Linked DNA regions of Homo sapiens: regions 1, 2, 3 and 4 are each linked to region 5. The links are contacts of gene promoters, found by promoter capture Hi-C in blood cells and fetal thymus (Javierre and others, 2016). All regions are on one chromosome and are shown on one strand. The core of a region is centred on a gene start or on the middle of the fragment in contact, and the rest is flanking DNA. Distances in the headings are between cores, read along the strand shown.

What was found. The method cuts DNA at HindIII sites, captures the fragments that hold promoters and counts their contacts. A CHiCAGO score of 5 or more calls a contact.
Region 1: a contact is called between a fragment that was not itself captured here and the fragment with the promoter of SPDL1 in region 5, in 2 of 17 cell types (M0 macrophages and endothelial precursors). The highest score is 7.3, in M0 macrophages.
Region 2: a fragment that was not itself captured here is called in contact with the fragment with the promoter of SPDL1 in region 5 in 4 of 17 cell types (erythroblasts, megakaryocytes, endothelial precursors and 1 more); the score reaches 6.0 in erythroblasts.
Region 3: a contact is called between a fragment that was not itself captured here and the fragment with the promoter of SPDL1 in region 5, in 2 of 17 cell types (M0 macrophages and M2 macrophages). The highest score is 6.0, in M0 macrophages.
Region 4: a fragment that was not itself captured here is called in contact with the fragment with the promoter of SPDL1 in region 5 in 5 of 17 cell types (M2 macrophages, M0 macrophages, naive CD4 T cells and 2 more); the score reaches 8.2 in M2 macrophages.

What each region holds. Positions count from the first base shown.
Region 1 is chr5:168,962,458-168,967,934 of GRCh38, reverse strand. The region is part of intron 4 of SLIT3 (slit guidance ligand 3); the gene reads left to right. Among named protein-coding and RNA genes, the nearest start is that of SLIT3-AS1, 48 kb to the left of the region's middle. The HindIII fragment of the contact is 161 bases long and covers 1,385-1,545 here.
Region 2 is chr5:168,997,415-169,003,415 of GRCh38, reverse strand. All of the region lies in intron 4 of SLIT3 (slit guidance ligand 3), which reads left to right. Among named protein-coding and RNA genes, the nearest start is that of SLIT3-AS1, 13 kb to the left of the region's middle. The HindIII fragment of the contact is 2,106 bases long and covers 367-2,472 here.
Region 3 is chr5:168,650,536-168,655,904 of GRCh38, reverse strand. No RefSeq gene overlaps it. Among named protein-coding and RNA genes, the nearest start is that of SLIT3-AS2, 54 kb to the left of the region's middle. The HindIII fragment of the contact is 4,120 bases long and covers 1,689-5,369 here.
Region 4 is chr5:168,688,601-168,693,732 of GRCh38, reverse strand. SLIT3 (slit guidance ligand 3) reads left to right here. Exons shown (of 36, transcript NM_003062.4): 29 at 1,033-1,126. Among named protein-coding and RNA genes, the nearest start is that of SLIT3-AS2, 16 kb to the left of the region's middle. The HindIII fragment of the contact is 1,109 bases long and covers 1,845-2,953 here.
Region 5 is chr5:169,580,363-169,586,156 of GRCh38, reverse strand. SPDL1 (spindle apparatus coiled-coil protein 1) reads right to left here and starts at 2,384. Exons shown (of 12, transcript NM_017785.5): 1 at 2,268-2,384. It overlaps LOC105377714 (a long non-coding RNA gene), which reads left to right and starts at 2,496. Exons shown (of 3, transcript XR_941200.3): 1 at 2,496-2,774. RefSeq lists an enhancer at 1,757-2,757. The HindIII fragment of the contact is 7,098 bases long and covers 1-5,151 here.

The DNA.
Region 1 (5,477 bases), core at 216-2,715, 620 kb after region 5:
AGGTACGAGAGTGTCTGAAATCTCTACTGGAGAGTGCAGACATCATCTTTTCTGCCAGCCTTGCATGGTGGGAAGTAGAGTGGGAACCCGAGGCTTTATTCTTCCTGCAGATGAAGGCTGACCACACCAGATATTGTGATTGTAGAGGGACAGGTGCAATGAAAGGAATGAAAAATCCCTCAAAGATTTGAGATGGGCCGGGCGCGGTGGCTCACGCCTGTAATCCCAGCACTTTGGGAGGCCGAGGCGGGCGGATCACGAGGTCAGGAGATCGAGACCATCCCGGCTAAAACGGTGAAACCCCGTCTCTACTAAAAATACAAAAAGATTAGCCGGGCGTAGTGGCGGGCGCCTGTAGTCCCAGCTACTTGGGAGGCTGAGGCAGGAGAATGGCGTGAACCCGGGAGGCGGAGCTTGCAGTGAGCCGAGATCCCGCCACTGCACTCCAGCCTGGGCGACAGAGCGAGACTCCGTCTCAAAAAAAAAAAAAAAAAAAAGATTTGAGATGGCAGTGCCAGAGGAATGCAAGGCAGCTTAGAAAAATTATGACGCAAGTGTTATATATTTACTGTAGAGAAGTTACATGAGACAGAGAAGCCAAAAAAGAAAAATAATTTAAACTCATGATTGTTCACCTAGAAATAATCACTAGCAATATTTTGGTGCAATTTTACCCCAGTGTGTGTCTCTCTTATATACACATGCACACACACATTTATAGCATTGGATTATACTATATGTACTCTTTGGAAACCTACCTTCTCACTTTAAAAATATATACAGAGCATTTTTCCAAATTCATAAATAACATCCTTTTTAATGGCTATTGTTCTTCCATTGTAGTAGGTGGGCCATGACAACTAGCTCCTACAGTTGGGAAATTTAGGTGGTTTTCAATTTTTTCCATCATCCAAAGTGCTCCAGGGAACATCCTTGTACATATATTTTTGGGGGGCTTTGTCATATTATTTCCTTAGGAGTAAAGCTCTTAAATAAAAAGTTATGTGCACGTTAAGAGCTTTTGAAATATATTGCCAAATTGCTCAACTGAAAGACATTACCGGTTTATATTCCTTCCAGAAATGCATGAGAGCACCTGTCTCTTTCTGTCCTCACGTTCATGGGGGATCATCATTTAACAAAATGGTAGATGCTGTTAAAGTTGGAGAGGCTGGAAGGAACACCATGACCTAACTCTGACTTGCATCTCTCTTGCAACTCTCCAGACAGAAGAGGAGTAGGCATGGGGGATATTTAGAGTGCCCAGAAATAGGTTTTGCAGAATCAAGCAACATTTTGGAGGATGCATTTAAGATATGTGTGAGGGCAGTGACTAGGAGATTCTCTCACCACCAGGTGTAATATGTAGACTCAAGAAGAAGCTTTTGTCCCCAGAGCTGACATTGTAAAGACAAGGAGGGCAGTCCCATGGTAGCATACCAAGAGGCAGCACTGGGATGGATCCCTTTAGTTCTCTTTCAGTCTCATACCTCCTGGTGCCCTGACCCAGGCTGCCCCTTCAATTCCAAGCAAAGTCCCAAAGCTTTGCCTTTCTCTTATAAAAAATCATGCTGGCTTCTAAAATTAAAAAAAAAAAAAAATCCAGCGAACCTCTCAGACTCTTCTAGGCAAATGATTGAACTTCATCTGGGTCCCATTTGAGAAGAGCAGGCATATAAAAATCTACATACATGGCACAGATAAGATCGAGAGCTCACCTGGGGAGACTTACAAGTGTTTCACATTCAAAGCACATGTCTCTAATGCTAATCAGATAACTGTAGAGTTTAATTCTTACATCTGGCACAAAACTCTTGCTTTTATGTTGCCTATTTTTTCCCGGAAGGTAATAAAATTCACAATCGTATCTCATAATCAATATAGCATCTCTTCAGGCACTTCTGCACATTATGACTGCCTAAGCTTTGGCCTGCTTAGGTAAGAGAACCACACGCTGTTGCTTATTTTTCCTTGTTGAGATACTCAGCTCTGAGGTCTTGCCATCTTGTGGCTTAGAAAGCAGATCTTGTTTCTCCCACTAAACAGGGTAGGATGAAGTACAGAGAGAGAGAGCGTGCGCTGGCATGAGTTCACAATTGGAGAGGTTGACACCTCACAGTACATCCTAACTGGGATTGTTGAGCTATTTACCTAGAAACCAGAAGCACCAACTCAGAATCAAGTGGAAAGTTTGCCCTCGGAGAGACAGTAAACTTTTAGGTGTCATTGCTGATAAGCGATAGAGAAGAATTCTGTCTGTACTTAGGGTAGGTGCATAATAGCAGTTTGCTACACTGGTATGTCAAAGTGCTGTTGGCATGAAGTTCATTTTGGATGAGCAAAAGATACACCAGAAGAGACCCATGTGTGAGTAGGCAGAACTCATATTTTCCTAAACTAACTTAATATTGGTCAAAATGCAATGAAAACCACAAAGATGTATTTTGGGGCTATATGGGCAAAGTAATTTAGTATTTTATAACTTTCTCAAGTTCATATTTGAGAGTAACAAGAGCAAAGGTCCCATCAAAGCCTGAACGTTTGCTCCTTAGCTATTATGATTTCAAAACCCATCTTTCTGTTTTAGATCCACTTAAAGTGAGTATCTTTCCTTGTTGAAGTGAGCAAAGTCGCCTAAACAACATGTTTATCTCTCAAATGCTAGGAGAATAGGCTTATATCTTAAGTTCTAACCATTTTTTCTTCCAATAGATATTTATAATCATAGGAGTTTTCTCTTTCATAGTACAGTACCCTAAATGAAGGAGATCATTTCTACCCTTTGAGAGTGACCCAGGTGAGCTCAATTGTTCTGAGATGAACAAAGTCCCACATACAGCATAGACTGTGCTGAGACAAGCAAGGTGCCCAGGGTGCACCATTTAAGGAGGCCCTCTCTCTTTCAGGGATGTGAGTGCTTCCTTAGAGATGTGCCCTGGGTGAGTCTCAGACACGTCTCCCTAGTCTTGGTTCTGGTCCTGGTTGTGACCTGCAGACTGCTTTTGGACACATCAACCATACCTACTATCTTTTAGAGCCTTCTTCACTGGAAATGTATTAAGGGCCCTAGTGGGCATCAGGAAATGTATTTTGCAATGTGTGCAGATGATACAGAGCAGGCATGCCTTATGGCAAAGGGGTCCCTTTGCTTATCTCCAGAGGGTTCACCTACTAACAACTGAGATTGACTGCAATTTCTTTGATGCTCATCCTGGCTTATGTTATATCTTTGCCTCAGTTATAACATTTGGGCCGAAAGATTCAAAACAAATTCTATTAGGTGACCCGAAGGCTGAAAGGTTGACTGTGTTTAACTGGATTATTTTACATTTTCTCAGTTTGTGCTTTATTTATACGCAGTAAGTTTCACTCAATCCACCTGACTTCTTACCTTTTGTCCAGCTTGAAAAATGAAATGAGTTTGGGCTTTGGCACTATGTGTTTCATAGGCTCCTAATCTCTCTTTGTATGTTTTGTTGGCCAATAATACGTAAAACTATGCCCCAGGCTTTCTTGAAGTGCATGTAAATATCTGCCTCTCTCTTATCTCCCATGGTAGTAATTCATCCAGGAAACTTACTTCCAACAGGTTAGGTATTAAACTCTCCCTCACATAAATCCACATTGGATGTCTCTGATCAAATTATAATTTTCAAAGTATTCCATCACTATGTCCAGTTAAATCGTTCCTAATATTTTCCCATGACTGGGTGACTTTTTAAAAAATCTTGATTGTGCTACAGAAGTGTTTTCCCAAATGCTTTATTAAGACTTGCACAAATGCTCACCATTTATCAGCAGGAAGTGTTTGCCTGCTTGGAGGAAAATCAAACTAGTAAATTATTTTATTTTATTTGCTTTTATGTAGCCCCCTGCATTTCTGTCCATTTGGGCTGCCTTCTTTGAGCTTGCTATTATAACTAGGGACAACTCCTCGTGGCCTCATAAATCATAATCGTTGATATTTATTGCTCAGTAGGTCTTTTAAAATCCAGTTGGAGGGGTTCCCTCCTCCCTTAAAACTCTGCCTTTTATTTTGCTTAAGGCACTATGGTAGGAAACTGAAACATATTTTCCTGGTTTTTACTTAAACTAAATGTAAGGCAAGCCTTATATAAAGCCAACAAAAGAGAGCCTGAGGTTTGAAGATGAAGGTCAGCCTCTTGGTCATTGATTCGACAAGTTCCAACCTGGCATTTGCAAGGGTTTGTCTCGCAGCAACTGCCTATCAGACGCCTATGATGGTCCAGACTCTGAATCAGGTACCTAACACACTGCTAGACAAGCAAGGCTTAGTCTCTGCCCTCGTAGAGTTGACAGTCTAATCCAGGGGTCACTGATCTTTTTCTGTAACACAGCAGATAGTAAATATTTTAGGCTTAGAATAGTCCCTGTCACAACCACTCACCTTTGCCTTGTGTGGTGAAAGCAGCCATAGACACTCTGTAAAGAAATGAGCATGAGGTTAGGCACAGTGCCTCATGCCTGTAATCCCAGCACTTTGGGAGGCCAAGGCAGGCAGAATGCTTGAAGTCAGGAGTTCAAGACCAGCCTGGCCAACGTGGAGAAACCTTGTCTCTACTAAAAATACAAAAATCAGCTGGGTGTGATGGTGCATGCCTGTAATCCCAGCTACTCAGGAGGCTGAGGCAGGAGAATTGCTTGAACCCAGGAGATGGAGGTTGCAGTAGGCCAGGATTGCACCATTGCACTCCAGCCTGGCCAAACAGTGAGTGAGACTCCATTTCGAAAAGAAAAGAAATAAGCATGAGTGACTGCATTCCAGTAAAACTTTATTTACAAAAACAGGGAGTGGGATCAGATTGGCCCCGTAGGCCATAGTTCGCCAACCCCTCGCCAAATGAAATAAAGAAGCAAAAAGCAAAAGTAAGTAAGAAACTAAATGTAATAATGACCATGTATGATCATTGCCATAAAAGAAACAAATGGGGTGCTGAGATGGACAGTTTCGGGGAGACTTGCTTTGGATGGAGTGATGGGGAAGGAACGGCTGCTGTGAAGAGATGTGATTTCAGCTGAGCCCTGAGGGAGGGGAGCAATCAGCAGTGTGAAGAGTGGGAAGGAGAGGATTTTAGGCAATGAGAACCACAGGTTCAAAGGCCCCAAGGAGGGAAAGTGCTTAGTGAGTCTAAGAGCTAAAAGGCAGCCACTGCGCCCACCTTTCATCCCTCCCAGCTTTCTTCATCCATGAAGTGGGATGTGTGGGAGTGTTGGTCTACCCCAGAGTCTGGTCATAAGAGCGCCAGCTCAGGCTGCCCTGGGGGGCCTCAGTGGGACTCCAGGGTATGGATAATGACCTTTCCTTTGGCCAACCAGGGGAGATGGGGGTTGGGCTCACTTTTTTTTTTTCTTTTCTTTTCTTTCTTCTACTTCTTAAGCAAAGACCTTTCATCAGCACACGGAATATAGAAAGCTTGCTCGGAATGTGTCAGGCTAAGCAAAAACACATGGTCTGG
Region 2 (6,001 bases), core at 170-2,669, 580 kb after region 5:
GACATTCTAGAAGCTGAGCAGGGTCAGACTCCCACAGAGGGTACTGCAGACACTCAGTAGGACTTCAAGGCCACATGAGCTTTGGGAAGATGTACTGAGTGCCCTGGTCTGCCCAGAAGCTAGGGCCCATATTCTGCAAGCCTCAGATGGGTCAAAAGAGTTTTAATCCAAGGAATAGTGACAACTTGAAATGATATGCAAAGTTTGTTTGTGCGTGCTCAGACACACTGAGTATTCTAGGAAAAAAGGACTAGATTTTACTGCATACATATGTAGATACATACTGGTAATATCATGAGTGCCATTTGCAAATCCTTTCTAATGGATTTAGTAGGTAAACAAAGGAATCTATGACCCCAGTAAGCTTAAGAACCTGTGAGCGAAGGCAGCCTTCCCCCAAAGAATAAGTGCCCCACTGGTAGTTTGAGATGATTTTAAGTAAGATTCAGACAAACTTCTTCTTTTACTAGGCATATACTTGTTTTCATACAGTTAAAACCTATATGTAACTAATATACCAAGTTTGTAATTTCACAGACATTGCAGATCAAGGTGAGGATAAAACAGATGTTTAAATAAGAGTCATTAATGGATAAGGTAAAACAAGTAAACAGTAGTACAAGTTTTGTGCCTCTATGGCAAAATTAGCTAATAGTGAGAAGAGACTGCTAAAGTTAGGGAAATACTTTGATCAAGGAAGAAAAACACGGAAAAATGTAGTCCTCATCCCCTCTTGTCCCAAATACTGAGATGTTTCTACATTAGAGCCCCTGTTTCTAGTCTCTTCCACTGGTTGCCTGCACACCATTGCCATTCCCATACTCACTCACTCCACGTGACTTTCCTGCTCTAGACTACACAATGGCTCCCTGTGGCCATCACATTCTGTCCACACTCTCTAACTGGGTTTGCAAGTCCATCCTCCCACCTGATGTCATCTCCACTATTTCCTAGTTCTGAAACTCTTCACTTCCCAGACCATTCTTTTCATTGTCTGCTCCAAATCTCCCCATCTGCCCCATCTGTACTCATTGATGCCCCATTGCTTTTTCTTTTTTTCTTTTTTTTTTTTTTTTTTTTTTTTTTTTTTTTTGAGACAGAGTCTCGTTCTGTTGCTCAGGCTGGAGTGCAGTGGAGTGCATCCTGGCTCACTGCAACCTCCACCTCCCAGTTCAAGTGATTCTTCTGCCTTAGCCTCCCTAGTAGCCGGAAGTACAAGCACACACCACCATGCCTGATTAATTTTTAATTTATTTTTATTTTTAGTAGAAATGGGGTTTCACCATGTTCACCAGGCTGTTCCCGAACTCCTGACCTCAGGTGATCTGCCTGCCTCGGCCTCTCAAAGTGCTGTGATTACAGGAGTGAACCACCACACCAGCCACATTGCTTTTTCCTATAATTACCTTCATACCCCCATGCTCCCTATTCCTCTTTTGAGTCCCCTCCTCTCCCTACTCTAAAAACCTACCGTTTGCAGTTCCCACCAATGTCTCCCTTCTCTGGAGTACTGCTGCCCTGCAATTCTGTATGTCAAGGGGAAAAAAAAAGGAGGGAGACTTTGGTTAATTACCACTTCACTTGGCACCAGGAAGGGTAGGCTAAGAGAGGAGCTATAGCCAGGAGTCTAAAACTTTTCTTTTGGCTTGTTTAAATTGTTGACAAAAATGGGATTAGTTTGAGATTAATCACTGAAAAACAAGGGAGATAAACTCCTGGGTTCCAGAGATATTAATTCCTTGGTTCTCATCCCAGCTTAGGTTATCAAAACCAAGAATTGTTCATTTTTCACAGTTTATGAGGTTTATCTTTGGCCTGTCATGAGATGCTGACAGAAAAATGAAATTGGTCTGTTTCTAGTCTATTTCACTTTCTCATTCCCACTCTCATAACAAGTCAAAATGTTCCATTGTAACACTTAAGGAGGGAAAAAAAAGACGTGACCCGCCTATGTGCCTGTACTTCTTGTCATTATTTGGTGTTTTTTTATTCTAAATATTTTTATTGTTCAAGCCGAACTCAAAAGATAGGTGCCTCTCCCTTCATTTCAAGCAGAAAGTGAATTTTAAGTACTTAGTAGGAAAAGTTGATGGCAAATTAATATGTGGGGGTGGTTTGAGAACTTTTCATTTTTCTCAGGATAAGGCAGACAAGACAGGTTCAAAATACGGACAGTGGCGATGAGCTGGAAGTGAGAAGTTTCCTCAGAAAGGGCTGAAAGGGTTGGCTGAGAATTTTTTTTCATTTCATCCTCATCAGATGCTCATTTATAAAAATAGCAAAGCACTTGGATAAATGTGAAAGTGGTTTGAAATGTGAAAAGTACTATGGATTTGCAGAAAGCATCTTTTTCCCATTGAATGGGATTATTTATGTCCCTCTGTCATATCACAACTTTCCTAACAAATAAGATGACAAAGTAATAAACTTCTTCCAGGGGAGCCATTCAGTGCAGAATTCACTAAGAAAGCTTTCCGACGCAACTCAAATAACCGCTTGGCAGGAAAAGTTATTTGAGAGAGATTTTAGAACTGAAAACCCCAAAAAAGAACATCTAGTATAAATTAAATAATGCTTCAAGAATAGGTTGTCGGGTCAGTTGTAATTGAATAGCCAGCCCATCAGTATTTATCAGATGCTTACTGTATGCTCAGAGCTCTAATAACTGTCAGCCGTGTATCTTTCTTTCTGTTGCTGTTTGTGTGAAGGTAATTTCTGACCATTCTTCAGTGAGTTTGATACTGACCAGATCTATCACGTTCAACTCTGTATCATATTATTAACGTCATGCTCTGACTTCTAACACCCTTAAGTTTTTGTTATGAGTTCTTATGTAAAATTTTTGTTTTACATAAGATTATTGTTTTTAGGTTATTGAACACTTTCTGTGAGTTTTTTATTGTTCTTCTCTTTGAGTAATTCTTCATTGTAGGCTTAAGCGTTGATGCAACTGAACTTTCCATTTCAGAAAAGATTACGTTAATATCCTTTACAAATCTTTTTTTTTTTTTTTTTTTTTTTTTGAGATGGAGTTTTGCTTTTGTCACCCAGGCTGGAGTGCAGTGGTGTGATCTCAGCTCACTGCAACCTCTGCCTCCCAGGTTCAAGCGATTCTCCTGCCTCAGCCTTTCGAGTAGCTGGGACTGCAGGCACACACCACCATGCCCAGCTAATTTTTGTATTTTTAGTAGAAACGAGGTTTCACCATGTTGGCCAGAATGGTTTAGATCTCTTGATCTCATGATGCGCCTGCCTCAGCCTCCCAAAGTGCTGGGATTACAGCCACCGCACCCGGCCATAACTTCTTAATAATGATCGCAGCATTTGTTGAGCACTGATTTTTTGTCGTCAATAATGATCGCAGTATTTGTTGAGCACTGATTTTAGCAAGTGATAGGCATTACTTTACTTCTGCTATTTCCTAAGAAGGATGGGGATACCCAGACCCCAAGTGGAAAAAATCATGAAGGGTCTTTGGGTCATCTCCCTACTCCAAGCCATGAGCCACAAGGCCATCGAGCTCAAGAGGAATGACTGAGCAGTCCAGCAGGTCCACTTTTGCATGGGTCTTCCCGTGCAAAAGCTCCCAGGTGGGCGTCCACTCTGTACCTGCAGCCCCAGGGCCGGCCCTCCATGGTGAAGCCAGGGCTGCCTTTGTGAGTCCCGTGGCTGCATATCCTCTGTCCACATTCCTCGGCTTTGACAGTGTGAGGCAGGGACTTGGGCTGTGTGCCTCCTCTGCAGACCTTCACCCTCTCACCCTATAGGGACACTGTCCAAAGTTTGTGGGAGGCAGCACTAGGAAGCCAATGTGAGTGGGGACCAGATCCCTGAGTCCTTCAGAGGAGTTCATCAGCAATGGAGCCCATGTTCTGGTCTCCATCTGCCTGCTTCACATGGGTCTGGAATTGGAAGGGGATGGGGATATGATTAGTTATCACTCAGCACCCCAAAATACCCACACAAGGCTCTATGTAGCTGTGCTGTTTTATTTGATCCAACAACCTTATGGGATGGGGGTAATTATTACTGTTTATCCAATCAGAAAACCAAATTAAGAGAGGTAAAGCCAGCAGCACAAGATGAACTGCTGCAGATCCATGCCTGCAGATCTGGGATTGAAACCTGACTGTATCCCACTCCAGAGCCAGAGGTCTTGAACCCATTACCAGAGGCTCTCATACTTGGAAGTTCATTCATTACCTCCTAAAGGGTGACTCACCTGTAATCCCAGCGCTTTGGGTGGTAGAGGCAGGAAGATACCTTGAGCCCAGGAATTCGACACCAGCCTGGGCAATGTAGTGAGACTCTGTCTCTAAAAAAACAAATTTAAAAATAGCTGGGCATGCTGGTGCACACCTGTAATCCCAGCTACTTGGGAGGCTGAGGTGGGATAATCACTTGAGTCTGGGAGGTTGAGGCTGCAGTGAACCATGATCACTCCACTGCACTCCAGCCTGGGCAAAAGAGCGAGATCCTGTCTCAAAACACACACACACACACACACACACACACACACACAGATTTCTGGGTCCCCTCCCAGAATTTCTGATTCAGTGGGACTGGGGTAGGGCCCAAGAATTCATATTTCTAACACATTCCTAGGTGACAGTGATGCTGCTGGTCTGGGGACCACACTTTGAGGACACATCTTTTCACCCTGTTCAATGGCCTTTTGTTTTGTTTTGTTTTGTTTTGTTTTGTTTTGTTTTGAAATGGAGTCTTGCTCTGTCGCCCAGGCTGGAGTGCAATGGTGCGATCTCGGCTCACTGCAACCTCTGCCTCTCGGGTTCAAGCGATTCTCCTGCCTCGGCCTCCTGAGTAGCTGGGATTACAGGTATGCGCCACCACTCCCAGCTAATTTTTGTATTTTTAGTAGAGACGGGGTTTCACCATATTGGCCAGGCTGGTCTCGAACTCCTGACCTTCTGATCTGCCCGCCTCAGCCTCCCAAAATGCTGGGATTATAGGCCTGAGCCACCGCGCCTGGCCCATTTCTTAGTTCTAACCTTCAAAGTTTACTAGTACATGGGGTGGCATCAAAACATTATAACTAGAAGAGTAACCTTAATTGGATGTTTAACTAAAATACCTACAACCTTGCATACAAGGCAGACCCTTTGGAGGCATTTTGGAGGTGGTGCTGGTTGTCCTTTCTATAGCTGAAAAGAAACAAGGAAGGGATGAAACGGATGTGTTTCATGTGTTTTAAGCCATGACAAAGTATTTCATTCTTCAAATACATTTTCTGGTGGCATTTTATTCTAGAGCCAATCTGGATGACTTTCTTTCTTGTAACTCTGTGAGATCAGCAGCCATCCCTGTGTCCCAAGTGACTCCCACAGTTTATTATTGAGAGCTTCCACCTGGCTTTGAATATGAACAGAGGAGAGAGAGGGAGGGAAGGGGAGAGATGGAGGGAGAGAGAGGGCATGGGGCGGGTAGAGAGAGAGAGCTTGGCCTCAAATTCTGGGAAAGGTTATCACATGAAGAATGGAGCCCTGATCTCTTTATAGACACTACAGATAAAGCCATGCAAGGGTTGCGGTGGATGTGAAGTGCCAAGGACAAACTCAGGTGTGCCAGAAATACCACTCCTTTGAACCTGATGTTGACACTTGAATCCCCATGTCATAGGCTGGTTGGAAATGCCGTGCCAGTTGCTACCTAGGTCTTCTCTCCTGTTTCCCTTCCAGGACCCCTCCCAGCAGAGTTAGGAGTTTGCATGGTGACCGGAAACAAAGGATGGTCATCAGCAGTCCCAGATCACCCAGGCCCACTGAGGTCTCCTGCATGCAGCAGCTCTGCATTTCTGGGCTTGGATGAGAAAGGGAATTTGGGGCAAGGCTTCTAGAAAGCCACGCGGCCATGACTCTGTGGGGTCTTTTGCCTCTCCCAAATCCTTGGGCCCCACGCATACCTCCCTCTACCCCCATCCCTTTCTAGTTTTGGAGAAGACCCTCCCTCTTTCAGTTAATTCTATTCTTTCACAATAGGACTT
Region 3 (5,369 bases), core at 2,499-4,998, 930 kb after region 5:
AATTACCTGGGTGTGGTGGTGCATACCTGTAATCCCAGCTACTTGGGAGGCTGAGGCAGGAGAATCGCTTGAACCCACGAGGTGGAGGTTGCAGTGAGCCAAGATCACACCACTGCACGCCAGCCTAGGCAACAAGAGCGAAACTCCATCTCAAAAAATAAATAAATAAATTTTTTATAAGGGATAAATTTATGTAGTAAATATATTTTGTAAAAACTCTAAGTGCCATAGAGGAATGGATTAATCCTAGAAACAGTATCTAATCTGTATTCCTTTCTCAGGGCTACCATAACAAAGTACCACAAACTGGCATAAAACAACAGAAATCTATTATCTCACAGTTCAGGAGGCCAGAGATCCAAAAGTCAAGGTGCCAGCAGGGTTGGTTCCTTCTGGAGGCTGAGAGAGGGAAACCGTTCATTCCTCCCTCCTACCTTCTCTTCCGACGGCTGCCGGCCATGCTTGGCATTCTTAGCTTGTGGATGCATTGCTGTCATCTCTGCCTACCTCGCCTTCACAGGACCTTCTTCCCTGTGTGTCTGTGTGTCCTTTTCTATCTCATAAGGATACTTTCACTGGATTTAGGATTCGGCCTAATCTAGCACAATCTCATCTCATATTCCTTTACCTTAATTACATTTGCAAAGACCTTATTTCCAAATAAGCTCACATTCTAAGGTTGTAAGTGGACAGGAATTTTGGGAGAGACACTATGCAACCCACTACAGAACCTAATGTCCTCATTTGAGGAAGCTGAGGCCTTGAAAATTTAAGTGACTTGCCCAACCAAGGTCATACAGTTTTATACAATTTAATGTGCATAAACAATATTAGAGGAGAGGCAGGTGCATGGTGTGATTTTCAGAGACCACGCACCACTGGACAAACCTTCATAGATCAAAATAATAAGACCATCCTGCATGAACAAAGTCCAGAGGGAGCCTGCCCAAAATATGTTCTATAACTTCAACCCATATTTCTCCCTCCTGGGGAACTGAAGGGGGTAGGTGTTAGCACCACAGAAAAATTATCGAAGCCAGAAAGATCAGAGAGCCAGCAGTGTCTTGCCAGCCATCTCTGTAACCAAACACACAGTTTGAGAGAAGCCCCCACCTCCAGTTTCCTCCCCCTACAATTTCCCCTACTTACAGTTCCAAAACCCTGCCATGATATTAATCAGAGAAGCACCCAACCTGGCCCACACTTTATGATGTGTGTCTCCGAAACCTCACCAGTTCTCATGGCCAGGTGTAGCTGTTAGGAATTTAAGTGGCAACTTGATCCTTAGCTGTTTCTCCACGATTTTCTGCCTGATTATAAATACTGCTTTGTGAAAATCCAGCCACACCACAGTCTCAGTCGAGCTGCATTTTTTCGAAACTCAGCTTTCCTTCCTGGGCATACAGCATCTGTTTCCAGTCAAGAGCCAGGGCGAGCCCGGCTTCCACGTGGCCTGCCACAGAAGGCCCAGCCATGGTACTTAAAAGCTCGTGGGCCTCAGATAATTGGCCTCCTAACCAAATTCAGCTGCTGGGGCCTGATCAGAAACTGCTGGGTTTCTTTTTCCCTAAGCCGATTTAATTCCCACCGCCAAGCCCTCTGACCTTATTTTCTTTCTTTCTCTGGCCTAATTCCTGGAAAATGGAGTCTGGAAATACCTAGGGACTACTTGGGTGGGCTCCAAAGCTTCAGGGAGAAGAGATAGGACTGAAGGATGCAAAAGGGATGAAGAGAGAAGCCAGGCACCAAGGCCACATCTTGTGACTCCATTTACAGGAAATATACCGTTTAGGTAAATGCATATCGGTGGCTGCCAGGGGCTGGGGGAGACGGAACTGGGAGTGACTACCTCATGGGTACAGAGTCTCCTTTGAGGGTGATAAAAATGTTTCGGAGCTAGATAGAAGTAATGGTTGCACGACATTGGGAAGGTACTGACACTGAATGATATGCTTTAAAATGGTTAATTTTATGGTATGCGAACTTCACCTCAAAAAAAACAGAAAGAGGGAAGGAAAAAAGAGGGGGTGGAGTAGGATGAGGAAGGAAGCCCTGGAGCTCAGGAGCAAGAGCTACAGAGATGTTCTGGAACAGAACACAGCTAATACTAAATTAACCCCTTGCTTTCCAACCCAATGCCTCAGGCCGAATGCCTAGAGCAGTTTCCCTAGGCACTGTGGCTGAGGAATTGTGCCCTGGGCCAGCTGGTGGGCCCCCTAAAGCTAAGAATGTTCTGCCTCTTCAAAGCATCTGCTCAATCCTGGACTCTTTTCTCTGACAATGTTTTCAGAGGGAGGTGCCCTCCCTATTTCAGGAGCAGAAAATGAACTCAAGTGTCGTGAATTACAGTGGGGGAAAAAATTTATTTTTTTTAAATTTAGGCTTCTCAGCCTTCTTACTCAAAAATACTAAAAATATACATTGCCTTTTCTAAATTAAACTTAATTCCTACTTTGAGCCCCCATCCTGCTTCATAGCAAAAACTTAATTATCTCATTCAGTTCAGTGTCTGGCATTTCTCTTCTCCAGGATACCCCTTGAGTTCCAGGTGCCTCACATCCTGTGAAGATGTTTGCTCCTTGCTGTCTTCATGTATTCATGCCAGCTGCCACGATGGCCTGGACATCTAGACTACGTTTGCTTTAACTCTGCAGCAAATCTTTTCCAGGTCTGCAGAGTCTATATGTCATGACTCTGCTCCCCCTGGAAGTCTGGGGACACCTGGAGGCTGCTATGCCATACTGGCACTACAAGAAATGAGGTGGAGGCCAGGCACGGTGCCTCACACCTGTAATCCCAGCACTTTGGGAGGCCGAGGTGGGTGGATCACCTGAGGTCAGGAGCTGGAGACCAGCCTGGCCAACATGGTGAAACCCTGTCTCTATCAAAAATACAAAAATGAGCTGGGCGTGGTGGTGGGCACCTGTATTCTAGCTACTCAGGAGGCTGAAGCAGGAGAATCACTTGAACCTGGGAGGCAGAGGTTGCAGTGAGCCAAGATCACGCCCTTGCACTCCAGCCTGGGCAACAAGAGCAAAACTCCATCTCAAAAAAAAAAAAAGAAAAGAAAGAAATGAGGTAGAGCTGAGGTTGTTCACCCACTTGTTTGCTACTCTTAGACGCACAGAAAAATCATTCTACTGCTCCCACGTTACCCAGGGTATTGGGAACCCTTCAAGGCTGACTCAGACCCGGGATGGAGCAGCTATTTCACCCCTACTTCTTTTGTGCCATCTTGTGGCACAGGAAGAGATTCGTGTATGTGCCCCTTTCCCAGGTTCCACCTGCAAAGCAGGCACAGTTCTCCTCCTCTCTCCAATTTTCCAAACCTGTATGAGTCTCTGAAGTGGAATTCAAATATACATTTGACTGAAAAGCTCGGGTACTTCCTCCTACACATTACCTTGTTGGAATGTGTGTGTGTGTGTGTGTGTGTGTGTGTGTGTGTGTGTGTGTGTCAGGATCTTGCTCTGTCTCCCAGGCTGGAATGCAGCGGTGCAATCACAGCTCACAGCAGCCTCGACCTCCCAGGCTCAAGTGATCCTCCCACCTCAGCCTCCTGCATAGCTAGGACTACAGGCGTGCACCACCACACTCAGCTACCTTGTTGGATTTAATTGGCACCTTAGAAAGATGTAAATCTTTTGATAGCAGTTGAGGTAAGGAGACTTTCAGGTATAAAAACAGATAATCCTACATAGTGGAGCCTCAAGAGCATTGTTAACAGGGTGCAAAAACAGAAACTGTCAAGCAGAAGTTTGTCAATGTGCCCCTGCCTGCTCTGTGTGCACACATTTCACCAAAGCTCTGGGGTCCGGATAGGAAAGCCCTGCTGGGACGAAGTGCACTTGGAAAGTCAAAAAGACACAGGGGTTTATATAAAAATGAATATCTGAATAATTCCAGGCAATGAACAAACCTTGAAAACATGCTAAGTGAAGGAAACCAAACACAAAAAGCCACATATCCATTTATATGATATGTCCACAGTAGGCAAATCCATTGAGACACAAAGCACACTGGTGGTTGCCAGGGACTAGGAGGAAGTAGAAATGGGGGTGACTAATGGGTCTGGCATTTATTTTTGGGGATGATGAAACTGTTCTGGAACTAGTAGTGATAGTTGTACATCATGAATGTCCTGGAAGTTACTGAGTTACACACTTTATACTTGTAAAAATGGTGAATTACTATGTGAATTTTACCTCCTTAAAAAAAATCCAGGCCAGGCACAGAGGCTCAACACCTGTAATCTCAACACTTTAGGAGGCCAAGGCAGGTGGATTGCTTGAGCCCAGGAGTTGGAAACCAGCCTGGGCAATATGGCAAAACCTCATCTCCACAAAAAAATACAAAAATTAGCCAGGCATGGTGGTGCATGCCTGTGGTCCCAGCTACTGGGGAGGCTGAGGTGGGAGGATCACCTAAGCCTGGGGAGGTCGAGGTTGCAGTGAGCTGTGATCTCACCACTATACTCTAGCCTGGGCAACAGAGTGAGACCCTGTCTGAAAAAAAAAAAATCAAGATATATTTGGGTTTGGTCAGAGGTCTCAGGGAGGGAGGGAGTCTACATTGAAGTAGGGTTTGGGGGTACGCTAGCTTTTGTCTTTGGATATGCAGTTCAGGACAGTTTGTCTTTGGATATGCAGTTCAGGACAGTTTGTCTTTGGATATGCAGTTTTAGGACAGTTTTTGTTATCTCCTAGCTTTTGTCTTTGGATATGCAGTTCAGGACAGTTTGTTTAACTCCATCATCTCATCACTCTAAAAATTTTTGGTGTATCTAGTTCAGACGCTCCAGCCCTTGATAAGTCTTAACTGGAACAGAAGAAAATTCTGAGATTTAGAATTTTGCTTATTTCCAAACAACTGTGAATGTCTAGAGTTGGAGGCAAAGACTTCTAGTCCCAATAGAAGGCACCAATCTACTGTCTGGAAAAATCCTTTAGCCCTGTGTCCCTCTCCTTCTAGCCCCACTGTGAAAGAACATATCATTCTCTAGTCATAATAGTGACCATCGTGGGTTAAAAACCCTTACTATTTGCCAAGTCTGGTGCTAAGCATTTCATTTAATCCTCATCAAAAAAAAAAAAAGAAAAAAGAAAGAAAGAAAAGAAAAGAAAAAGAAAATGGCAAATGGCAATACAAGGTCTCAATCAGTTAAGCATCATTCTTAAGATCACACAGCTGATAAGTGGCAGGACTGGGATTCAAAACCAAAATTGCCTCCAAAGCCCCATCCTTAACCATTATATCATTCTACCTCTTTCCGATTAACCCTGGTGAGTTTTGCTTAGGGCTCTTATCATTGGTTCCTCTCACATTCAGTGGTGTTGAGATTCTAGGGTGAAAATTGAGCAAGAGGTTCA
Region 4 (5,132 bases), core at 1,150-3,649, 890 kb after region 5:
GCCAGCCCTCTGGACCTACCTGCCTATACCCTGGGAGCAGGAGCTAAGGCAGCTTTCCCCGCCCTGCTCCCACCCCATTCCTGGAGAGAACGTTCATGGTTAGACCTTTCCCTCTCTTAGATCACTCTCCATCTGGCTTGACCTAGTGGAATTTGAGGAAACCCAAAACTCGGATCTTAAAAGCTGGTGTTGCTTGGGAGCTGCTGTCCTGCCTTACCGCCCTCCCCCACATTCCTAAAACACATTTTCAGGTGGTGTAAGCTTTTCAGGGCTTATCTGCAAGGGCCATCCCTGGGTGTTTATGACCGTTAGGTATTTTGTAGCACTGCAGACTTCAAAGGCAATGTGTCTAGAGACCAGAACTTCAAATTCCTTTCATACTTCCTTCCCTGAAAAATCCAAGGGGCTTACTTTTCTGTAACAGGTGAACTGGGCTGCTAAGCCTTGTCTGTGTCTCTGAAGCCTCCTCTGACCTCCTGGGGGAGGTTATGGGTCCCCCTTGTGCTTCCACAAAGTTTGCCCTTCTGGTCACACCTACAAGTCTGTATTGTAATTGCCTGCTTATTTGTAGATCTTCCCAAATAGGCTGTGGGTAGGAAAGGACCCAGTCACTGTTGTGTCCCCAGTGCCTGGCACAGTACCTGCCACACAGGAGGTGCTCAGTAAATAAGTGTGGAATGAAAAAACAAATGAATAAGCATGGCCCAAAGTGAGGGCCAGGCATCCTGTGCTCTCAGCTGCACCTGCCCCTGCCCCTGAAAGATCAAGTAAAACAGCCAAATGGTGATGCTAGGACAGTGTCCAGGAGGACACCTGGAATCTTCCCGTGGTCACTGCCAAAGAAACCAAGGCAGAGGTGCAGGAGGATACACAAGGAGTGAGAACACAGGACTCCTGACGTCCATGCCCACCTGACCAGGGGCTGGATGAGTCTGATCTTCTGGCCAGGATATCCCCCCTAGTACTCTGATCTTCTGGCCAGGGCATCCCTACCCTGCCTGAGGCCTGAGCTATCTCCCCCATCTGTGCCAGGTGAGCTATGCGACGAGGTGATTGACCACTGTGTGCCTGAGCTGAACCTCTGTCAGCATGAGGCCAAGTGCATCCCCCTGGACAAAGGATTCAGGTAAGACCTGGCTTCGTGCCCCCAGCACAGAGTCCATGAAAACTCTGCCTCTAACAGTCTAGGTTTTAGGCAGTCTCTGGTCTCTCTGCATGCTCTCTCTCTCTCTCATGTGCTTCTCTGCATCTCTGATTCAGCCATGATCTAATTATCTCAGTCTGTTTCCCTATGCGTGCCTCTGTCTGTCTGTGGGTGTCTCTAAGTCTCTGTAGATAGACAGGTAGGTAGGGAGAGAGAAAGAGACAGAGAGAGAGAAAGATCCACTCTTTCTCTTCCCTGCCCCTTCTTCCTTGCCTCTCCTCTCCTACCAACTTCCCAGTACTCTCAGCATATCCCTCCTTTCTAGAGCTAAAGAAGTAGAGCAATTCCACTGGGGAAGCAGCGTCTAAAGGGTATTTGGTCACCTTCTCCATGTGCAGCCTTTGCAGTACGCTGCCCCTCCAGTCTACAGCAAGTTTTTCAGCTTATGCACCTGTTGCAGGGGAAGGGGGCAGGAGCACTGTGGTCCAGCAGCATGGCCATTGGCGGAGCTGTCTCCATGGTGAGCAGCAGAGCCCATAGGAGCCAGGGGAGCACGTGAGCAGCCCTAAGGGTGGATGGAGAGGCTGCCTCAGGTCAGAAAGCCATGCAGCTCTTGAGGCTGAGGATCCAATGGCACTCCTGGGAAATCCCTCCCAGGCCCTGTACTCATCTCTTCCTTTCACCTTCCTTCATGAAAGCTTTTGCCACTGCCTCTTCTAGAGAAGATTGTGAGACCCTTGAGACTGGGGGTTTTCTGACATCGAGAGGGAGATCCCAGAACTCTGTGGCCAAAAACATTCTTCCCAACCCCAGTGCTGCCTTCTACACCCAGCTGCCTCCTTCTTCTCCCAGCAATCTCTGTCCAACACCAGAGGAAAGCCACTAGCACCAAGGAGTCAGGGTTTTGGGAAACAGGCAGTCCGGGGCAACTGGAGAGACCCCAGGATGTTAGCAGACCCCATAAATGACCTTACAGAGCCTCCCCTAGAGATGAGGGCCCTGGGCCCAGAGCTCCATGCCTGTGCTGATGAGTCTTTAAGGAGAATGCCCACCAGTGGCATCTCCAGCCTCTGGGGCCAGAAGCTCATGCTCTAGGTCTTGATGGGTCCAGAAGCTGTCATCACCCAGAATCTGTCCTGTTCTCAGTCACAGGGCAGAGAGTTAGACTCTGGGGGTATTTGTGACTATGATTCTAAACAACAAGACTTAGGACTTCAGGGAACCCCAAGATCTCAGAAAGCCCAATCACAGAATCTTAGAAATTTAGAATCATAGAATCTCTGAAACTTGAACTTGTAAGCTCTTAGAATCTTAGAATCTAAGAAGCAGGAGTTCTAGTTGTTGCTCCAGCCAGCCCACCCATCAGTCCACAGATCTTGATTGTGTGGAGTATAGTGGGGATTGGAAGATGGTTTTGATTCATCTCCTCAAGGCCCTTGCCATGGACCTAGGGGAAGAAGATTTGACACTGAGCAAATATTTAGAAAAGAAAGAAGTTCTAGGCCCCACGATTCTGGCTCTGTTGCTGGGGTTCTGAGGAAGGAAAAGGCTGCTGGAGGAGAGAAGCAGCCCCACCCCTTTAGGAATAGAATGTGGGTGACCCTTGAGGGTGGGTGGAATTTGGATGGGTTGAGAGAAGGAAGGACGGCTCCACTGGGGGAAGAAGAAGCAAGTAAGTAAGGGTGACAAGCAGACATGAGCATGTCTTTTATCGTGTCTTCCTTTTCTATTTTCACATCACAAGCCTAGATCTCATCACCAGGGGAAATGCCAAGAGGCTCTGGTTGCTCAATGAGACCAAATGAAGCTTCAGCCCTTCCATGTGTCTACCCCATTCCTATCTACCTCATCTGCCCCATGCCCCCTCAGATATGCCAGGTGGGACTTTTAGGCAGTCAAGTTACCTGAGTACAAGGGTGAGAGATACCTCACAGGACCTCCCCGCCTACTTCCACCCCCCTGATTTGACTTCAGTTCACTGCTGATCTTTACGAAGTATGGGATACTGTGAGGGGACAGGGAAGAATGAAGGGGCAAGGGGTGGGAAGAGACATGTAAATGCAAACGTGAACTCAAAGCAGAGCAGGCCAGGCAAGCAGAGTGCTCTGGGCATGCCCGGGAAGGGGCAGGGAATGGGGATCTGCCCATGGAGAGGAGATAAATTGCCTCTTGGCTGAGTGGACAGCAAGCTCAGAGGACACAGGCTTACACCAGCACTGGTCAGAAGTGGTCTAGGGGCCACCCTGGCCAACATGGTGAAACCCCGTCTCTACTGAAAATACAAAAATTAGCCAGGTGTGGGCACACTCCTGCAATCCCAGCTACTCAGGAGGCTGAGGCAGGAGAATCGCTTGAACCCAGGAGGCGGAGGTTGCAGTGAGCTGAGATTGCACCACTGCATTCCAGCCTGGGTGACAGAGGGAGACTCTGTCTAAAAAAAAAAAAAAAAAGAAAGAAAACAAAAACGTGGTCAAGGGTGCAGGTGTGGGGTTGGTTGGAGTGCTGGAGAGCTAACACTGCCAGGTTTTTATGATCCCCAGAACTTATTCCTAGAAACCTCTATTGTAACTAAAGTTCCTTGAGTTCTAAGACAATATAGGAAAGAATAAAATCAGTCTAGCTTTCATAATCTTGAGATATTGTATTTATATGTGATGTCATTATCTTGAAAAGGTCTACAGGCCAGCTCAATGTTAGTGTTTCATTAAAATGTGTTTAAATCAAAAATTATTCTTCCAGTGCAACATTTTATCATTTTATCTCCTTCATCTCCCATCACCAAACAGCTCATATCCTATGGCAGCCTGTAGGGATATTAGCCAAAGAGATACACAGTCAGGGTGACGTTTGTCCAAGTGTGAAGATGTTTATCCTTGGAGTTCTCCTTGTACGTTCCCTCTCCCTCAATGAGGTCTCAATGAAGGGCAGATACTACCTGTCCATAATACAATAGCCAAAAGAAAGATCACAATGACTAGCATGTACTGCTAACTTATTCTTTGTCAGGCAAGGTGTATTATCCAACATCCAACAATCTTAGAACGTAGAAACTCATTCACATTTTATGAGGCTCACTGAGGTGGCATAAGCCACCTCCATGCACACATATAAAGGGGTGGGGCTGTGAATCAGTCTGGGCCTGACTGATTTCTCAGCTAAATCCAGAGACTCCAGATGTCCTGGAACCAAGGACAGCATGCGGTTACTCTCCCTTGTGCAGAATCAATAGACCCAACACATATTAAAATGCATAAAATTTAACTAGAAGAAAAAGGCAAGCATTTGAGAACAATGGAGAATGCAGGTTACAGCACCAGCTGCCTCTCTTTAGTTGATGGAGAAGTACTATATAGGTCCTTGCTACCAGAGGTTCTTGAACCAGCAGCATCAGCATCACATGGGCGTTTGTTAGGAATGCTAGTTCCCAGGCCCCACCCAGACTCCCTGAATCAGAAGACACATTTTAACAAGATCCCTGGGTGTTTTGTATGCTCATTAAAGTTTGAGACTTGCTGGTATTGAGAGGGCTGTAGCATTTTAAAAGAAAAAGAAGGTCAATACATTTGCCTCCCGACCTCCACTGCTTAGTCTGAGAGTGAGAATAGCTTCCCTAATTCTTAATAAAGATCTCACCAGTAGCCTTGAAGTCCAGGCTTAAAATATTGGATTTTATCTTGTAAGTATTGGCCAGCTATTATTGCCTTGGAGAAAGTCATATAGCTTAAGTTGTTCTGCAACTACTTTTTAGAATTCAAGAGACACACAGATGGCTTCCTGGGCCAAGTTTAACACAGTAGCAGAAGTATACATGGTGCTGTATTGAGCACATGCCCCTCAAAGGCATTCTCAATGTGTTTCCTTAAAAGACTGGTTGAACATGTAAGTTTGTACTTCCAGTGCAGCAATAGGTTATGTATTTCAAATTTGCCAATCAAGTAAACGTGAATTGGTCAGATCTTAGCGGATTTCAATTTTTGAGCATAGGCCA
Region 5 (5,794 bases), core at 1,135-3,634:
GAGAATGGTAGGAGATAAAGATAGCAAGCACAGGTTTGCTGCAAAGGATAACGGATAAACGGAGCAGCAGTTGGAGAGGAAGTAGGGACAAGTTTTTTTATTTTTAAGATGGAAAAAAATAACAGTGTTTGTAGGTCATGGGATAAATCCAGGAGAGAAGAAAAACTGATGATCTAGAAGACACTGGAGAATTGCTAGTGATGTCCCTGAATAAACAGGATGAAGTTTAATGTAGAGACTGGTTTTAATAGAAGCATGGATATTTCATTTAAGCAAAGTATATGAGTTTAGATGCTGATAAGCAGGTACAGTGGTGGAAGTCTGTGTAAGTAACCTTTTAACTGCTTCAATTTATCAATGAATTAGGAAGCAAGGTCTTTAACTGAGAATGAAGACAAGGGAAGAGATACAGGGTTTAAGAGAGAAAAAAAGGTGTTCTAGGTAATCCCAGCTTGGCAGTCACTGCTCTAAAATGCAAGACCTTTTCAAAGCCTGTACATGATACGGCCAGCCAACTAAATGTTGTACTGTTCACAATAACTTACATTCGTTGAGGATTTACCATTTGCCATGCTAACTGCTTCAAATATATTATCTCATCTAATTATCTTGATGAGCTTGAGTTAAGTAAATACTGTCATCTCAACTACCAAAATAAAAATAGGGTTAACCTCAAGACATTCCAGCCAGGCATATCCAGAGAAGCCAAAAAAAATTTGCTTTAGTTTATTCAAAAAATTTGCTGGAATTCTTATTGTGTGAGACATTGTGCTAGTGTTGACAACACAATGGCAACCTAAAACAATATTCCTGTCTTCTTGAATCCTAGTCTATTAGTAAAAGACATTAAATCAAGTAATTGAACTATCAAGTTACAAGTATGATAAGTGCAAGAGAGACAGATGTATGCTACCTGAGCCTGTAACAAGGGGGAGCTGTCCTAATCTGGGGGGCAGCGCGTAGAAGGGAACATGGACAAAAAAATTTTCCTGAGGAAGTAACTTTTCAGCAGAGGTCTAATGGATGAGAAAGAGTTAACCTATCAATCTACAAAGAGAGATAGCCGTGGTTGATTAAAAACTACTAATGTGTGACAGACATTGTGCTTGGTGCTTTATACACATTCTTTTTTTTTTTTTTGAGACGGAGTCTCGCTCTGTCGCCCAGGCCAGACTGCGGACTGCAGTGGCGCAATCTCGGCTCACTGCAAGCTCCGCTTCCCGGGTTCACGCCATTCTCCTGCCTCAGCCTCCCGAGTAGCTGGGATTACAGGCGTGAGCCACCGCACCCGGCCGCTTTATACACATTCTTATTCAATCTTCTCAACAACTTCAAGAGGTTGAAGGTATTTCCCTCATTTTACACATGCAAGCTGAGGCATAGAAAGTTTTAAGTAACTTGCTTAGGGTTACCCGCAAGTTAAGACGCGAAGTGTGATGGGAACTAGAATCTACCTAGAAACCATGGTGCTGCAACCATTTTTCCTGTCCTGCTTCTCAAAAATATAGCACACACAAAGCATTTGGGACACAGGAAACTCTGGGAATCAAACTGCCTGAGTTCTTACCCCGCCTCCACTACTCACTGGCTGCATGAACTTGGACAAGTTATTTAATTTCTGGTTTAATCATCTATAAAAACAAGCACAATAACACCCACCTAATCGGTTACTGAAAGGATTAAATGAGATAACGAATGAAAAGCAATTAGGGTAGAATCTGACACACGGCTGGGGCAGTGCTGTCCAGCAGAAATATAACGCGAGTCATGTACGTGATTTTAAATGTTCTAGGAGCCATCATGATTTAAAAAGTAAACAAAGATGAAAAATTAATTTACATATTTAAACAAATACACTCAAAACATCATTTCAACATGTAATCATTATAAAAATTATTAATGAGATATTACTCCTTATGCGCTATCTCTGAAACCCAATATGTATCTCCCATCTGCACCATTTCTTAGTTCGGGCTAGAGGCTACCGTACCGCACAGCGCAGATCCAGTGGCGGTTATAATTTTGAGGACCCGGCAACCGACCCAACGTTCCATATTTGTCCAGAATCCCTGAGGGCGGCGAGGTGGTCCAGCGGAAGATAAGACCGGCTCGGAACCCAGTGTATAAGACCCCAGGGTTCCGGGGAAGGAGATGTTTCAGCTAAAGGCCTCGGCCGAGACCCCGGCCCCTAGCTTTCTTTAGGGCCTGTTCGACTCTCCCCACTGCCGCTCTCCACACCCACCTCCCACCAGGCCCCTTGCCCCTACCTCTCACGCTAGTCCCCTGCTGCCGCAGCCAGCGGCTCCTAATGGGAGCTCAGGGCGTCCACATTGAGGACGCTAACTCCACAGTCGCCGGCCCATTCGCTCAGCTAGCTCTCGAGTAAGCGCCTGGGATATTTGAATGCAGTTCCCGCGAGAAGTCCCACGTCTCACGAGACGTCCGCCCAAGCCGCGCGGAAAGGAAAAACCAAGAGAAACGCCCAATGGAGCGCCCACCCCCTCCTACAGCTACTGCGCATGTGCAAGTGGCGCGCCGTGGGCTTGGCGCAGGCGCAGGCGCAGACGTGGCTCCACATAAATTTTTCCTTGGGCTGGTTTCCTGCATGTCTTTTAAGTATTTGCTTTTAGTTTCCGTGTTTTGGTGTTTTGTTTGTTCGTTTTTTTTTTTTTTTTGTTTTTACGACAATGCCTTCTAGGGGAACAGTGTCGCTGGGCTGGGCGGTGGAGAGACACCTTTGGCACCATCGTGCGATCTCATGCACCCTACCAGTGGTAATACTGGCGTTAATATTTAAGTTCCCACCATGTGTTAAAGTTTACAGATTATCTCAGTTAAGCCCGCAGCCTTATGAGGCAGATATTACTCCTCGTTTTCTACAGAGAAAAAGCCCGAAGAAAAAAAGTGCCTTGTCCAAGTGGTAGAACTAGAATTGAATGCAGTCTTAGAGTCCAAGCTGTTTGCATGTGTTTTTAATAATAATATTTTGTAACCCTGATGCCTATTCAAAAATTGAAGCGATCAGAAATAATAATAGATAACATTTAATGAGCACTGATGAGTCCTAGTAACTGTTACATGAATCATGTCGTTCTTTCGAGCCCATCTTTTCTTGCCTATTTGAGAACTTGGCTCTAACTGCTCTTTTTTGCATCTTCAGTTTTTTCTTCTCTATTGGATCTTCCCTATCAGTTCATAAACATGCTGCAGTGATTGCCATAAAATCATTTCATGATTTCATTTTTTAAAAAATCCTCCTTGACACCAATCGGCAACCACCCCATTTGTTTTCTTCTCTTTATAACAAAATTTCTGGGGAAAAAAAATCTTTACATCCATTATCTCCATTTTCTTACCTTTTGTTCTTTTGTTTGTTTTTCCCACTTTAACCAGGATTTGGTCCCAACCAATACTATGAAGTGGCTCTTGTTAGGTTTACCAGTGATTCCTACCTTGCAAAATTCGGTAGTCAATATTTAGTCCTCACTTCTGGTGAAATTTGACAGAGTTGCTTGCTCTCATTGATTTGAGTCTTTATGTCTTGGGATGCCACACTCTCCTTGCCCTCTTCTTCTCAGTTTCTTTTGCAGACTACAATTTCTGCCTGAGCTAAGCCAGACTCAAAGGGTTGATCTGAGCTTTAAGATTGGCAACAAATTGCTCACAGTGTTGTCTCACAGATTTATCTGGGACTCCAATGAACCAGATGCTCATTCATTTGTAATCACACCTATGTTCTTGGAGAAATGAAACAAATACCATTTTCCCTATCACTGAACAAAGATTCCTTAACTCAGGGGCCAGGAAAAGATTGTTCTAGCTTAGGCCAATCATGACTGGCTGCAATTAGGTAATCTAAAATCGATCTGAACTTATTTTTTCTCCTTTGTTACAAGAGAAGGTATACCCTATGTTATTAATGTTTCTTCCTATTCTATTTTAAAAATATGTATTTTAAACTATTAATTGAGTGACTGCAATGTGTTAGGCATAGTGGAGGAATTCAGAGATGTGGTAAACTCGACTATTGCCTAGAAGATGCTCGCAATATAGTAGGAGATTTTAAAAAACAAATAGAACTTACAGGGCTGTAAATGCTATGCAAGTGGTATGTGCCCCACACTAAAGGAGTTGTGTGAAGGGAGAGGTATATTTTGTCTAAATGTTCCTTTAAAACTTCCCAGTGCATGTGACACTTCAAGCAGGGCCTTGAAGGATGGCAGAGCTAAGGAGGGGTGCATTCTAGGGGAGGGGACAGCATTAGGAAAGTCTTAGAGGTTACCCCATGTCATAATAAAGGTCATTCTTTAGGGATGGCCTGAATACAGGACTGCCAATACCACCACTGGACGCTAGATGTCACAAGTGAAATGAATTCTAGATGGGTTCTACTTTTAAGATAACTTAATGGAACTTCTGATTCACAATACCAGATGCAGATCTCCGTACTCAGGCAAGGTCCGCATACCATGGCCTAAATACCAAAGGTCAGGAAAAAGCAAAAAACAGCAACCTTGTATCTGTTATTTTCCATTTACGTAAGGAGAGATGGGACTTGGCCTCCTCACACAGTAGTGGATTCACCAAGCATAGGATGGGAGTTCAGATTCTGGGAAACAACACCCACCTCCCAACTCTGTGGCCCTCAGTTACAATTCCTAATATTATAGCTGTTCAGAACTGGGATAGACTCCTGTAGTGAACTTGTCATCATTTCTTCATTGTGACTGTTCTAGACGAAACGAGAGGATTAGACTGTTACGTTATATTGAAAGCTGCATATATTTTGACAGGAACTTATTGAATGATCATTTGTTTTGGGCATTACAAATGAATAGTCTCTGTATTAAACGAACTTAGAGTTTAGTGGAAGAGACATTTACCAAACAATAAACAGTAAATCCTTACTTAGAGGATGACTTAGACTTTCTTGTTCCTTCATGTTATTAAGTAGAGCTGCAAGCTAGTCATCGCTGGGATCAAGCAAAAACAAGCTCAGGACTCTGAGACACAGAGTCTGCAAATAAGAATGAGATTAAGCTGTAGAGTGCTGTGATTTATAGGATGGGCTGGAATATGAAGTTACGAAAGTTACACTCAAGGTTGTGGTCACTGAAACTTGGGGGATGGCCGAGATGAAGAAAAAAAGCTTTGAGAGAGAACGGAGGGGTGTGTGCAGGACTTTTGGGATTGTCCTAATCCATGGCACAGGAGGAGAATAAGGATCCAACAAGAAAAACAGGAGCCATATGAGAAGAGATCAGGAAATTGAATTGTCACAACTTCCACTGTGATAATTAGATATCAGAATGAATCATTGTACCAGGCAGGTGGGTTTGACTGTTTAATAGTAATAATGATAATGAAACCCAGTCTGCGATCTCTCCTGTATCAACAATGTATAGCATCAGCTTGAACTCTGAATGAGCCTAATAGCTATACTATTTTTTCTTTAAATAGGGGGAATCTTCTCTCAGAGAAAGAGTGCACCATCCCAATATAGTAGACATTTAACAGCTAACATCCTAGCATGAATTCCTTCCTCCTATTCCCACCAAGAGAATTCTGATTATTCTTTTGTATAATTTCTATTTTCTCAATTTTCAGCCATATGAATTCTTTAAAACTGATGCTACCTTTCATCTCTAGGATATCCCGTCACCCTGGTTACAGTAATTGATTCAAAGATGTGCATGTGATGGAATCTAAGCCAAAGAGATTTTTCACTGGGACAGCTGGAAAAATGGATTTTGTTAACTGCCTCTGTTATAGTCTGAATTGTGTCCTCACCTCC